Regions from separate parts of the Homo sapiens genome. Here all the other regions are linked to region 1. The links are contacts of gene promoters, found by promoter capture Hi-C in human tissues and cell types (Jung and others, 2019). All regions are on one chromosome and are shown on one strand. The core of a region is centred on a gene start or on the middle of the fragment in contact, and the rest is flanking DNA. Distances in the headings are between cores, read along the strand shown. Region 1 holds the start of OIT3 (oncoprotein induced transcript 3). Region 2 overlaps MCU (mitochondrial calcium uniporter). Region 3 overlaps PLA2G12B (phospholipase A2 group XIIB).

Region 1 (3,767 bases), core at 785-3,284:
CAGCTGCCCCTCTGCTGTCTTCCACCAGGACCACGCAGGGCCAAGGGCAGGGAACCATGTCTGCGTCCCCACCCTTTCGCCCCAGGGTTGAGTCCTCCAACCCTCCAGGTCCTATCCGGCAGACAGCCGCCCCTGAATCACAGCCCCTTTTCGACCCTGTGCCTGAGCTTGGTCGGGAAGTGCCCCTCCTTTCCTGCTCCATCCTCTTCCATCCTCCTCCCTCATCACCCCACTTTGCTTCCCCCTTTCTCATCCCTTCTTTTCCTCTTCTCTCACTTCCCCTGTCCTCTCAGGGCAAACACCAGCTCTAGTTCCCAAAGTTCCCCCTTTATCATGCTTCTGGCATTGAGCCAAATATCATCCTTGAGGAGCTGGGGGTTGGAGGAAAAGATCTGGGAAGGGCGATGGTATATGGAAAGAATGGGGAATATAGGAGGTACTAGAGGGAGAATAGGTAAGGAGAAGGGTGGGAAGAAAGGGGAGTGGAGATTTTCGGGAGGACAACTTTCTGAGCGACCCTTGGGTTAGTTATTGGCAGCAGATAGGGGGTGATTAATGACAGGTAGCTCAAGCATATTTTTTGGAATAGTTTTGGATTTACAGCATAATTGAGATGATAGGACAAAGAGATCCCACATACCCCACACCCAGTTTCCCTTGTTATGACACGTTACCTTTAGCCATACATTTACCACACATTGGCATGGTACCTTTGTCACATTAATGACCCACTATTGATACCTGATTATTAACTCAAGTCCACACTTATTCAGATTCCCTTAGTTTCCACCCATATCTTTCTGTTCCAGGATCCCACATTACCTTTAGGTGTCAGGTCTCCTTAGGGTCTCAAATCACCATTTTTATTTTTATTTTTATTTTTTTGAGATGGAGTCTCCCTCTGTTGCCCAGGCTGGAGTGCAGTGGTTCGATCTCGGCTCACTGCAACCTCCACATCCCGAGTTCAAGTGATTCTCCCGCCTCAGCCTCCCAAGTAGCTGGAATTACAGGCATGCAACACCATGACCATCTAATTTTTTTGTGTGTATGTATTTTTAGTAGAGACGGAGTTTCACCATGTTGGCCAGGCTGGTCTTGAACTCCTGACCTCAGGTGATCCACCCGCCTTGGCCTCTCAAATGCTGGCATTACAAGTGTGAGCCACCGTGCCTGGCCACAAGCCTATTTTTAATGTGTATCCTTTCAGGTACTAGAGCAACCATGAAGAAATAAGCCAGGGTCAATTAGATACTGAGCTACTCAAAAGTGTCAAGAAGGATGGTTCTCTCCATCTCACCCCCACCCTCTGTTCCAGTTAGTACTCACATTCTACTAGAAAAAGATGCAAGAGAGAAATCTGTTAGTAACTGGAATTGAAACTTTTCTTTGCCTGACTGGCCAGTTTTGCACCAAGCCTGAGGAGGGAGACAATTTAAGATTCACTCGATCTGTGCAAAAAGTCTTATTTTCTGACATAAAGACTAATGAGTTTGGTTTATCCAGATCTGTGCCCCCCATGGCAACAGAGCTTTCAGTCCCTTGCCTTCATTAAAGAAAAATTCTATGCTCAACTTTAATTTTTTTTTTTTTGGCTCTTCAAGTTGGAACTATAAAGTGCCTAGAACACAAAGAAGATAGAATTATTTTTACACATACTCCAGGAACTCTTTAGCTAGTGAAAGCTGTGGGATATGGCAGATCCATGGAAATTTTGGAGTCCAGGCAAGAGGCTAAATGGAACATGTAACAGAAATTCTCGGGAAATCTATTTTCAAGGATTATTAGGGACTTTTCTTACAAGATTCTAGAGCTAGCATTTAAGGTACTGGAATCTAGTTCTTAATCATCTGTACATTATAGCAAATTGCCACAACAAAAAGTGCATTGTGCCAAGTTCTTGACATGAGACTCACCCACGGGTGACACGGAGGTGCCTGTGATGAAGAGGCAGGTGAGAAGCAGGAATGGAGGCATCCTTCTGGACCAACTGCCAGAAACACTGGAAAATCCTCTTAATACTGGTGTTCCTTTGTCCCCTTCTCTTTCAAGCACTTTTTTTTTTAAGGCCTCTAGGCTCTCACGAGAAAGACTTTATCAGCACTGGTAGGGGCTTTATCAGAGGAAGAGGATGAGGATGAGTGGGATAAGGTGTCCACAGCTCTGGCCTTGGCCCCAGAGAGAAGCACTGCTTTACACTGTCAACAGGGTTCCTTTATTAATAGTTTTCTTTAGGAAAAAAAAAAAAAAACACAACTCACAATCCCTCATCCTCCTATTGTTTTCTCTCAAGAATTCCCTGCAATGAAACCCCAGTATCTTATCCAGAAGGGAATTCTAAATGAGGGACATCCCTTCACGTCAAATTCTTGCTTTGTGACTTCTAGGAATTGATTTCACAATGTTGCAGCCATAGCACTGCACACTAAACGAGAATGGATGAAGCCAAATCACTGCAACTGTCTTGGTCAGATGGTTGAGGAGCTTATAATAGCACACAAAACAAAGTAGTAAGGACAGGTATGAGACAAGGACAGTATTCTCTTGAAATAAGCTCCTGAGTTTGTTTTATTACGGTCTTTGGCCTCAAAACTTCTGAAAGAAACAAGGTTTAAATTGTGTTTTTACTAATTCAAGCAGCAATACCTCATATTTTTATTGTCTTTACTCCCAAAATTAAAAAATGGTTTAATGTTATTTATTTCACTAATTCTCACATTAAGATGGGGTAGGAGCTTAAAATTAGAAACTACTCATTAAATTAACACTCTGGAAAATTAAATGTCAAAATTTCCTGAAGTTTCACTTTTAGACAAAGGAGAGAAAATGTGCTTCTTAGCACAATTTTTTTTTTCAGACGGAGTCTTACTCTGTCGCTCAGGCTGGAGTGCAGTGGTGTGATCTCGGCTCATTGCAAGCTTCGCCTCCCGGGTTCACGCCATTCTCCTGCCTCAGCCTCCCAAGTAACTGGGACTATAGGCGCCCACCACCACGCCCAGCTAATTTTTTTGTATTTTTAGTAGAGACAGGGTTTCACTGTGTTAGCCAGGATGGTCTCGATCTCCTGACCTCGTGATCCGCCTGCCTTGGCCTCCCAAAGTGCTGGGATTACAGGTGTGAGCCACCGAGCTCGGGCAATCACTGGTTTTTGACAATGACAAAAGTACACATGGTCTCCAGAAGCACAGGGTTTATGGTCAAGCAAGGGGTTTCCATTGATCTAAAATTGTAGTTAGCTACTTCATTACTAACATCAGTGGGACACAGGCAATTTGACCATTAACTTATTAAGTTGTGGTTTGATGGCAGCAATGGATGACTCTGCTGTCTCATTGCAGGATAGTGTTGCTAAGTATCAGTGCTTTAAACAGAAAAAACAATCCCCCACAACTTCCTGCGCCTAGGAAGCCATCTGAGGGCTTCATATGTGTTGCAGAGAAACAGAGGACGTGTGCATGAGATAAACCCAGACTTGTTGCCAGGATTGATTGCTGGAGTCAAGGACTTTCACCAGATAGCCTTTGGTTCTGTAAACAAGAATTCCCAGGATGGTAAGATGTTTTTTCCCCCTTATTTCTATTTTTTCCTTTTTAGTTGACCTGCTCTTTCATTTTTTACTTTTTATGATGAAAAATTTCAAATATATATACAAAAGTATAAAGAACAATAATGAACACTCAGCTATAATAATTACTAACATTCTATCAATTTCATTTACATACCAGTATGCATTTCTAACACATTGTATTTTTTTACATAATCATGATGCT
Region 2 (3,767 bases), core at 922-3,421, 63 kb after region 1:
AGAAGCACTTTGAAGTTGTTTTCATGCAGATCCTGTAGGCTCTTTTTTCCTCATGTAATGGTTTTTGGACTAAGTCTTGTCCAATATTAGGAACACAATCCCTGCACGTTTGAGTTTGCATATGCCTGTTACATCTTTGTGTGTTCTTTAATTTTGTTATCCTTTCTGAGTTTCTTTGCTTTCATTTTCTTAGTAATCTGATCTGGGAATGTTTTAATAGGAGAATTAGCCTACATACTTTAATTAATATAACATACATACGTAATCTCTTATCAGTTATGAAATTTTATGCTATGCTTTCTAAAGTAAAAATACTTTACTAGTGACTAGGCATGGTAGTTCACGCCGGTAATCACAGCACTTTGGGAGGCTGAGTGAGAGGACTGCTTGAGCCCAGGAGTTAGAAGAGGCTGCAGTGATCTATGATCGTGCCGTTGCACTCCAGCCTGGGCAACAGAGTGAGACCTCATCTCTTAAAAAACATTAAAATAAAATTACTCAAAGATTTGTGCTTGCTTTGTTTTAGTTATATATATATTCCTTAAGAAAGGCTTACTTTTTTGTTCTAGTAGTTACTTCAGAGTAAAAGTCAAAGTTCTTTTAACGGCCTTTGAAAGTCTAATATTCTCTGATATCCCATTATCTCTGACTTCATCGCTTACCACTCTCCCTCCTACATTACTGTGCTTTACCCCTTTAGACTCTTCCCTGTTTCTTGAACTCAGCTACATTTTTGCTTCAGGGCCTTTGCAATAGCGATTACCTTTGCTTAGAATACTGTTTCTCTAGATAACTACATGGCTCCCTCAGTTCCTTCAAATATTTGCTCTACTCATCCACTTCAAAAAAAGCAATCTCATCAATGGGTACTCCGAATCCTTTTATGCTGTATTTTCCCCCCATACATTTAACACCTCTTAACAAATTATTTACTTATTTTTGTCTCCTCCAACCCACGAAGCAAAAATTTTCATCTGTTTTGGTCACTGACAGTGCTTGACAAATAACAAGTCCTCATCAAATACATGTTAGGCAAAAAACAAAACAAAACAAAACAAAAACCAACCCTATATTTTATAGTTTATGTTATAACTATAATTTTATATAAAATATACTGTAACATATAAAAATCCTATCTCTATCGTCAGCAATGATTAATACAGCTATGTTTCTTTTTTCTTTCCCTCTACCATTCGGTTTCGTTTATTAGATTATTTCTCTTAGCATTTACCTTTCGCTCTAACCTACGTATCTATGTATCAACTACAGACTCCCCTCCACCCCAATCTTAAGATTTTACTAGATTTACTGATTTCAAATGACATCTTTTGACAGGTTGTTATAAAACATGACAACATCATTTATTTCCTCATCTTTCCGACTTTCATTACTGCACTGTCAAGGTTTTAACGATTCATATTCTTCTCTGTAAATCTAATTTCCACATTTGTTTTAGTCTTAATGCTATAGATCAATGGACTCTATGTTCACTGCCAATACTTTAGCTGTAGTTTCTCCTTTCATTTCTTGGTTGGCTGCACATCTTCCTGTAGAAGTAGGACTCATGAGAGCTAAATTTCCTGCAGCTTGGCATGTTAATTTCTAAATTAATCTTTCCTTGAGGATTTGGAAGGGAAAGAATCAGTGTTGAATACTGCTTTGGAGAAGTCTGAGGTCGGCAGCTTCCTTTGGAGAACTGTGTTTGGCTGGCTTTGTTGGGGATCTGCGACCACAGGTGTCATTCCTCAGGGTTTCCCCACACACCTCTACTTGACCTTCACTGGATCTGGCAACCTTCCTTTATATAATTAGTGTTTTGGAATTGCAGAGATCTCCCTAGTTGTGCTGAAGATGGGGTCTGTATTTTTATCTTATTCTCCTTCCTATTCTAAGATGTGAGAAGAGAAGGGAGAAACTGCTGCCTTTACTGGGCCATTATTTGTTTATGTAGTAACTTTTAAATACTGACATCTTCAGACACATACAGTAGGAAGCACAGTGTGAAGAAATCTCATGAACCTATCATCTGCTTCTATATTTATCAACATTTTATCAAATTCAGTTCATCTACAGCCACCCAGTTTTTCCCCTTCCGTATCTCTTAAAAGGAAATCCCAACCATCATATCACTTCAATATACATACACTGGGCCGTTTTACAACAGAAATCCTCTGTCCTCTATGAGTTCATAAATTATCCTTGACAATAATAAAAGATGTTTTTGTGGGGCAGTGAACCACATTAATACATGGCTGGTTATGAGTAATATTTGTTAGATGATATAGAACATGGGTTGGCAAGCTGGCTGCCTGTTTTTGTAAATAAATTTTATTAGAACATAACAAAGCTCATTCATTTACTTACTCTCTATACCCCACTCAACTACTTTCACATCACAACAGCAAAACTGAGTGGTTGGTATATAGCTGCAAGAGTTGAGTAGCTGCAACAGAGACCACACGGCCCACAAAGTATCAAATATTTACCATCTGGCCCTTTAAGAAAATGTTTGTTGATCCTTGCTTATAGAACAGTTTCTGTAGTTTTGGGACAACTCACTTTCTCAAAGTCCTTCCCGCCTACTTCTATAATGACACTGGCAATTATAAAATACTACATATTAAGTATTTACAAACACACATGTAAGTCCTTTTATTTCTTTAAACTTTCCAGAAGCTTAGAATCTACTAAAGACAACAAAAACAAAAATTATTTTGCTCTTGCCTTTTTTCCTTGAAATATGGCAACAACAAACAAAAAACAAAAACCAAGGAAGCAATTGTAAGAGCTCAAGATCAAAGAACCATTGCTATTCTAAACTCTTCCATAATTCCCCTAAATTGAAAATATTTCATGGTTTAAATTTTGTATTTTTAACATGTCACAAGAAAATAGTAAGTTTGTAAAAGTTTTTTTCCTTTACTGTTTAGGTTTTTTTTTTTTTACCCTTTACTTTCCTTGGAAGCTTTTAATAAATATTTGACTGAGGCTGAAAGTTTGAAAAATATATCAAGAAGTTAAAAAAGAAAGAAAAGTCAGCAAAAACATTCAGGCAAATGATATGTGATATTTATATATTTAAATTTCATAGGCAGATACCAAGATTAAAGTTAAGTAAAGTTAATTAAGTTAAATCTTGGCAGATACAAAGATTAAAGTTAATTATTTAGAAAGTATTTCAAAAATTATCAGAGAAAGGGAAAATCTCTAGGAACTTTTTTTTTTTTTTTTTTTTGAGACAGTGTCTCTCTCTGTTGCCCAGGCTGGAGTGCAGTAGCACAATCTTGGCTCACTGCAATCTCTGCCTCCTGGGTTCAAGCAATTCTCCTGCCTCAGCCTCCCGAGTAGCTGGGACTACAGGCGAGCACCAACCATACCCGGCTAATTTTTATATTTTTTAGTAGAGACAGGGTTTCACCATGTTGGCCTGGCTGGTCTCGAACTCCTGAACTCAAGTGATCTGCACACCCTGGCCTCCCAAAGTGCTGGGATCACAGGCATTAGCCAAGGCGCCCGGCCTCCCTAGAAATATTGGTGCCAAATGAATAAGGTGATTTGGTGCTCCCATAGTTCCTTGAAAAGAAACAGCAAGTTTATTCTTTTGGTACCAGTCCATATCTTTAATAAGTAACTTGAGAACTTTAAGGAAAATCAGGGACTTGGAACTAAAAGAAAGTATAACGTCTGCCACAGTATTATAATCATTTACCTTTGATCTTAATCCCTAGTGTTATCAATTTAGAGTCAGGTTACAAAACACTGTAACT
Region 3 (3,767 bases), core at 467-2,966, 45 kb before region 1:
GTCTAGAGTGCAGTCTGGAGGTGAAGGTGTGAGGGCTTAGAAATGTGAATAATTCAGTGTGCCCTATGAAAGGGAGTATCATTCTATTCTGTTTCTGCAGAGGCTGAAAAAGTACCTGCTGCTAATCTAGGGTCAGGTCAAGTTACTTCCTGCAAGCAATGTCCTGTTGATTCATTCTCCCAAATATCTCTTTCATATCCCACTTGCCTGGTTACTGCAAATTAACCCAGTCTCTGTGTCCCATCTAATTGATAGTCACCATTGGGACCAGATATGCCACATGAATGTGATCATCTCAACCCCCTGTGTAAATCATTCAATAGATTCCTCCTCCTTACGGATGAAATCCAAACTCCTCAGTATGCCATACATGGCCCTTTCTGATTCAGCCCTAGCCTTCCTCTCCACCATTATCTTGGGCATTTCTGGTCTGTCTCTTGACTCCTGCTTCAGTGGGCTCAGAACTGTCCCTTCGTAGATTCTACAAAAAGAGTGTTTCCAACCTGGTGAATCAAAACACAGGTTCCTTTCTGTGAGATGAATCCACACATCACAAAGCATTTTCAGATAGCTTGTTTCTAGTTTTTATCACGGGATATTAGATGTTTTTCTTATAGGCCTCAATGGGCTCAGAAACGTCCCTTTGTAGATTCTACAAAAAGAGTGTTTCCAACCCGGTGAATCAAAACACAGGTTCCATTCTGTGAGGTGAATCCTCAAAAAGCATTTTCAAAGATCGCTTATTTCTCATTTTTATCACAGAATATTTGATTTTTCCTTATGGGCCTCAGTAGGCTCAGAAATGTCCCTTCGTAGATTCTACACAAAGTGTTTCCAACCTGGTGAATCAAACTCCTTGGGTTGATGGCCCATTCCTTTCTGCCCCTGTGTGAAACGCCCTAATCATTCATTTTTGTTGTTGTTGAAACAGATTTATTAAGCTACAATTCACACATGATACAATTCACCCACTTAAATGCTTTTAAATATGTTCACAGAGTTATGCAGTCAATCCCACAGTCAATTTTAGAACATATTCATCACCCTGAAAAGGAGCCCCAGGGCCATTAACGGTCTCTCCCCAAACTCCCCCTGCCCAGCTTGAGGAAACCATGAATCTACTTTCTACCTCTAGAACTGCCTATTCTGGACATTGTCAAAAATCAATTGACCATAAAGGTTAGGATTTATTTCTAGATGCGCAATTCTATTCCACTGATCTATGTCAGGACCATGCTGCCTGTTACTGTCGTTATGCAGTAAATTTTGAAATCAAGATGTGTTCTTAAACTGTGTACTTTTCTGTCAAGACTATTTTGGATATTCTGGATCCCTCACATTTCCATATGAATTTTAGGAACTGCTTGTCAATTTCTCCAAGGAATGGCAGCTAGAATTTTGAGAGGGTTATGGTTGAATCTATAGATCAATTTGAGAATATTGCCATCTTAACAAGATTATATTTATATCAATGTCCTTTCCATTTATTTAGGTCTTCTTTAATTTATTTCAACAATGTGTTTATAGTTTTCACAGTACAAATCTTGGACTTCTGTTAAATTTATTCCTAAGTATTTTATTCTTTTTAATGTTATTGAAATGTAATTGTATTTAAATTTTATTTTCAGATTATTTATTAATAATGTATAGAAATTCATTTGATTTTTGTACATTGATCTTATATCCTGCAACCCAGCTGAAATAACTCCTTAGTTCTAATATTTTTTTTCATGGATTCCATAGGCTTTTTTGTATATAAGATAATGCCATCTGCATATCATCTTCCTTTCCAATTTGGATTTTTTAAATTTTTTCTCTTGCCTAATTGCCCTGGCTAGAGCTTCCAACACAACATTGAATAGAAGTATTGCGAGTGGACATTTTTGTCTTGTTCCTGATCTTAGAGTAAAAGCATTTCATCTTTCACCATTGAGAATGATTGTTAGCTATGACTGTCATTAGACGACCTTTATTAGGTTGTGGGAGTTCTCCTCTTTTCCCAGTTGGTTGAATGTTTTCTTTTAATTTTTCTTTCTTTCTTTCTTTCTTTTTTTTTTTTTTTCTGAGATGGAGTTTCACTCTTACACCCAGGCTGGAGTGAAGTGGTGTGATCTTGGCTCACTGCAACCTCCACACCCCGGGTTCAAGCGATTCTCCTGCCTTGGCCTCCTGAGTAGCTGGGATTACAGGTGCCCACCACCATGCCCAGCTAATTTTTGTATTTTTAGTAGAGACGGGGTTTCGCCATGTTGTCAGGCTGGTCTGGAACTCCTGCCTCAGCCTCCCAAAGTGCTAGGATTACAGGCGTGAGCCACCACACCTGGCCAAGTGTTTTTATCGTGAAAAAGTGTTGGATGTTTTCAAATGCTTTTTCTGCATCTATTGAGATGATCATGTGGTATTTGTTCTATATCCTATTGATGTAGTGTATCATATTAATTGATTTTAGTATGATTTAGCATTCTTAGGCTAAATCCCACTTAGTCATGATGTAAACCTTTTTATATGTTACTGGATTCAGTTTACTACTATTTTGTTGAGGATTTTGCATCCATATTCATAAGAGATACTAGTCTATAGATTGTTATTTTTGTGATGTCTTTGGTTTTGGTATGAGAGTAATATTGACCTCATAAAATGAATTGGGCAGTGATCCCTTCTCTCCTAATTTTTTAAAAAGCTTAGAAAGGATTGATATTAATTCTTTAAATGTTTGGTAAAATTCCCCAGTGAAGCCAAGTAGAATTGGATTTCTTTGGGGAAGTTTTTAATTACTAAATCACGAGCTTGGGTTAGTAATTGTATTTATATACACTAGTAATCTATTCATATTTTCTATTCTTCTTGAGTCAGTTTCAGCAGTTCACGTCTTTCTACGAATTTGTCCATTCCATCCAAGTTATCAACATTTTTTGGCATGTAGGTATTCATAGTATTCCCTTATAATCCTTTTTATTTTTATTTTTTTGAGATGGAGTCTCGCTCTGTCGCCCAGGCTGGAGTGCAGTGGTGTGATCTCGGCTCACTGCAAGCTCTGCCTCCGGGTTCACGCCATTCTCCTGCCTCAGCCTCCTGAGTAGCTGGGACTACAGGCGCCCGCCACCACGCCTGGCTAATTTTTTGTATTTTTAGTAGAGACAAGGTTTCACCGTGTTAGCCAGGATGGTCTTGTTAGCCAGGAGGTCTCCTGACCTCGTGATCTGCCTGCTTCGGCCTCCCAAAGTGCTGGGATTACAGGCGTAAGCCACCGTGCCCGGCCCTAATCCTTTTTATTTCTATAAGATTGTTAGTGACATTTCTCTCTCATTCCTTAATTTGGTAATTTGAGTCCTCTCTTTTTTTCTTGGTTAGTCTAGCTAAAAGTTTGTTAACATTTTTTATCTTTTCAATGAACCAATTTAAAAAAATTGATATATCATTCACATACCGTAAAATTTACCCTTTAAAAGTATACACTTCAGTGGTTTTTGTATATTCAGAGTTGTACAACCATCACCACAATCTAATTCCAGAACATTTTCATTAGTCCCAAAAGAAACCCTGTAGCCATTAGCAGTCACTACTCATTACCTCCCCTACCCCACCCCAGCCCTAGACAACCACTATTTTACTCTCTGTATGGATTGCCTATTCTGGAAATTTCATATGAATGGAATCATACAATATGTGGCCTTTTGTGTCTGGCTTCTTGTGCTTAGCATAATGTTTTCAAGATTCATCCATGTTTTGGTATGCATCAGTACTTCATTTTCCTGACCATTCTTGAA

What was found. The method cuts DNA at HindIII sites, captures the fragments that hold promoters and counts their contacts. A contact is called where the count stands out against the background at its distance.
Region 2: a fragment that was not itself captured here is called in contact with the fragment with the promoter of OIT3 in region 1 in 1 of the 25 tissues and cell types used here (psoas muscle).
Region 3: a contact is called between a fragment that was not itself captured here and the fragment with the promoter of OIT3 in region 1, in 1 of the 25 tissues and cell types used here (aorta).

The regions. Positions count from the first base shown.
Region 1 is chr10:72,892,006-72,895,772 of GRCh38, reverse strand. OIT3 (oncoprotein induced transcript 3) reads right to left here and starts at 2,034. Exons shown (of 9, transcript NM_152635.3): 1 at 1,914-2,034. The coding sequence starts at 1,974. The HindIII fragment of the contact is 12,875 bases long and covers 1-3,767 here.
Region 2 is chr10:72,828,791-72,832,557 of GRCh38, reverse strand. All of the region lies in intron 1 of MCU (mitochondrial calcium uniporter), which reads right to left. Among named protein-coding and RNA genes, the nearest start is that of OIT3, 63 kb to the left of the region's middle. The HindIII fragment of the contact is 6,518 bases long and covers 1-3,767 here.
Region 3 is chr10:72,936,411-72,940,177 of GRCh38, reverse strand. The region is part of intron 3 of PLA2G12B (phospholipase A2 group XIIB); the gene reads left to right. Among named protein-coding and RNA genes, the nearest start is that of PLA2G12B, 17 kb to the left of the region's middle. The HindIII fragment of the contact is 4,211 bases long and covers 1-3,767 here.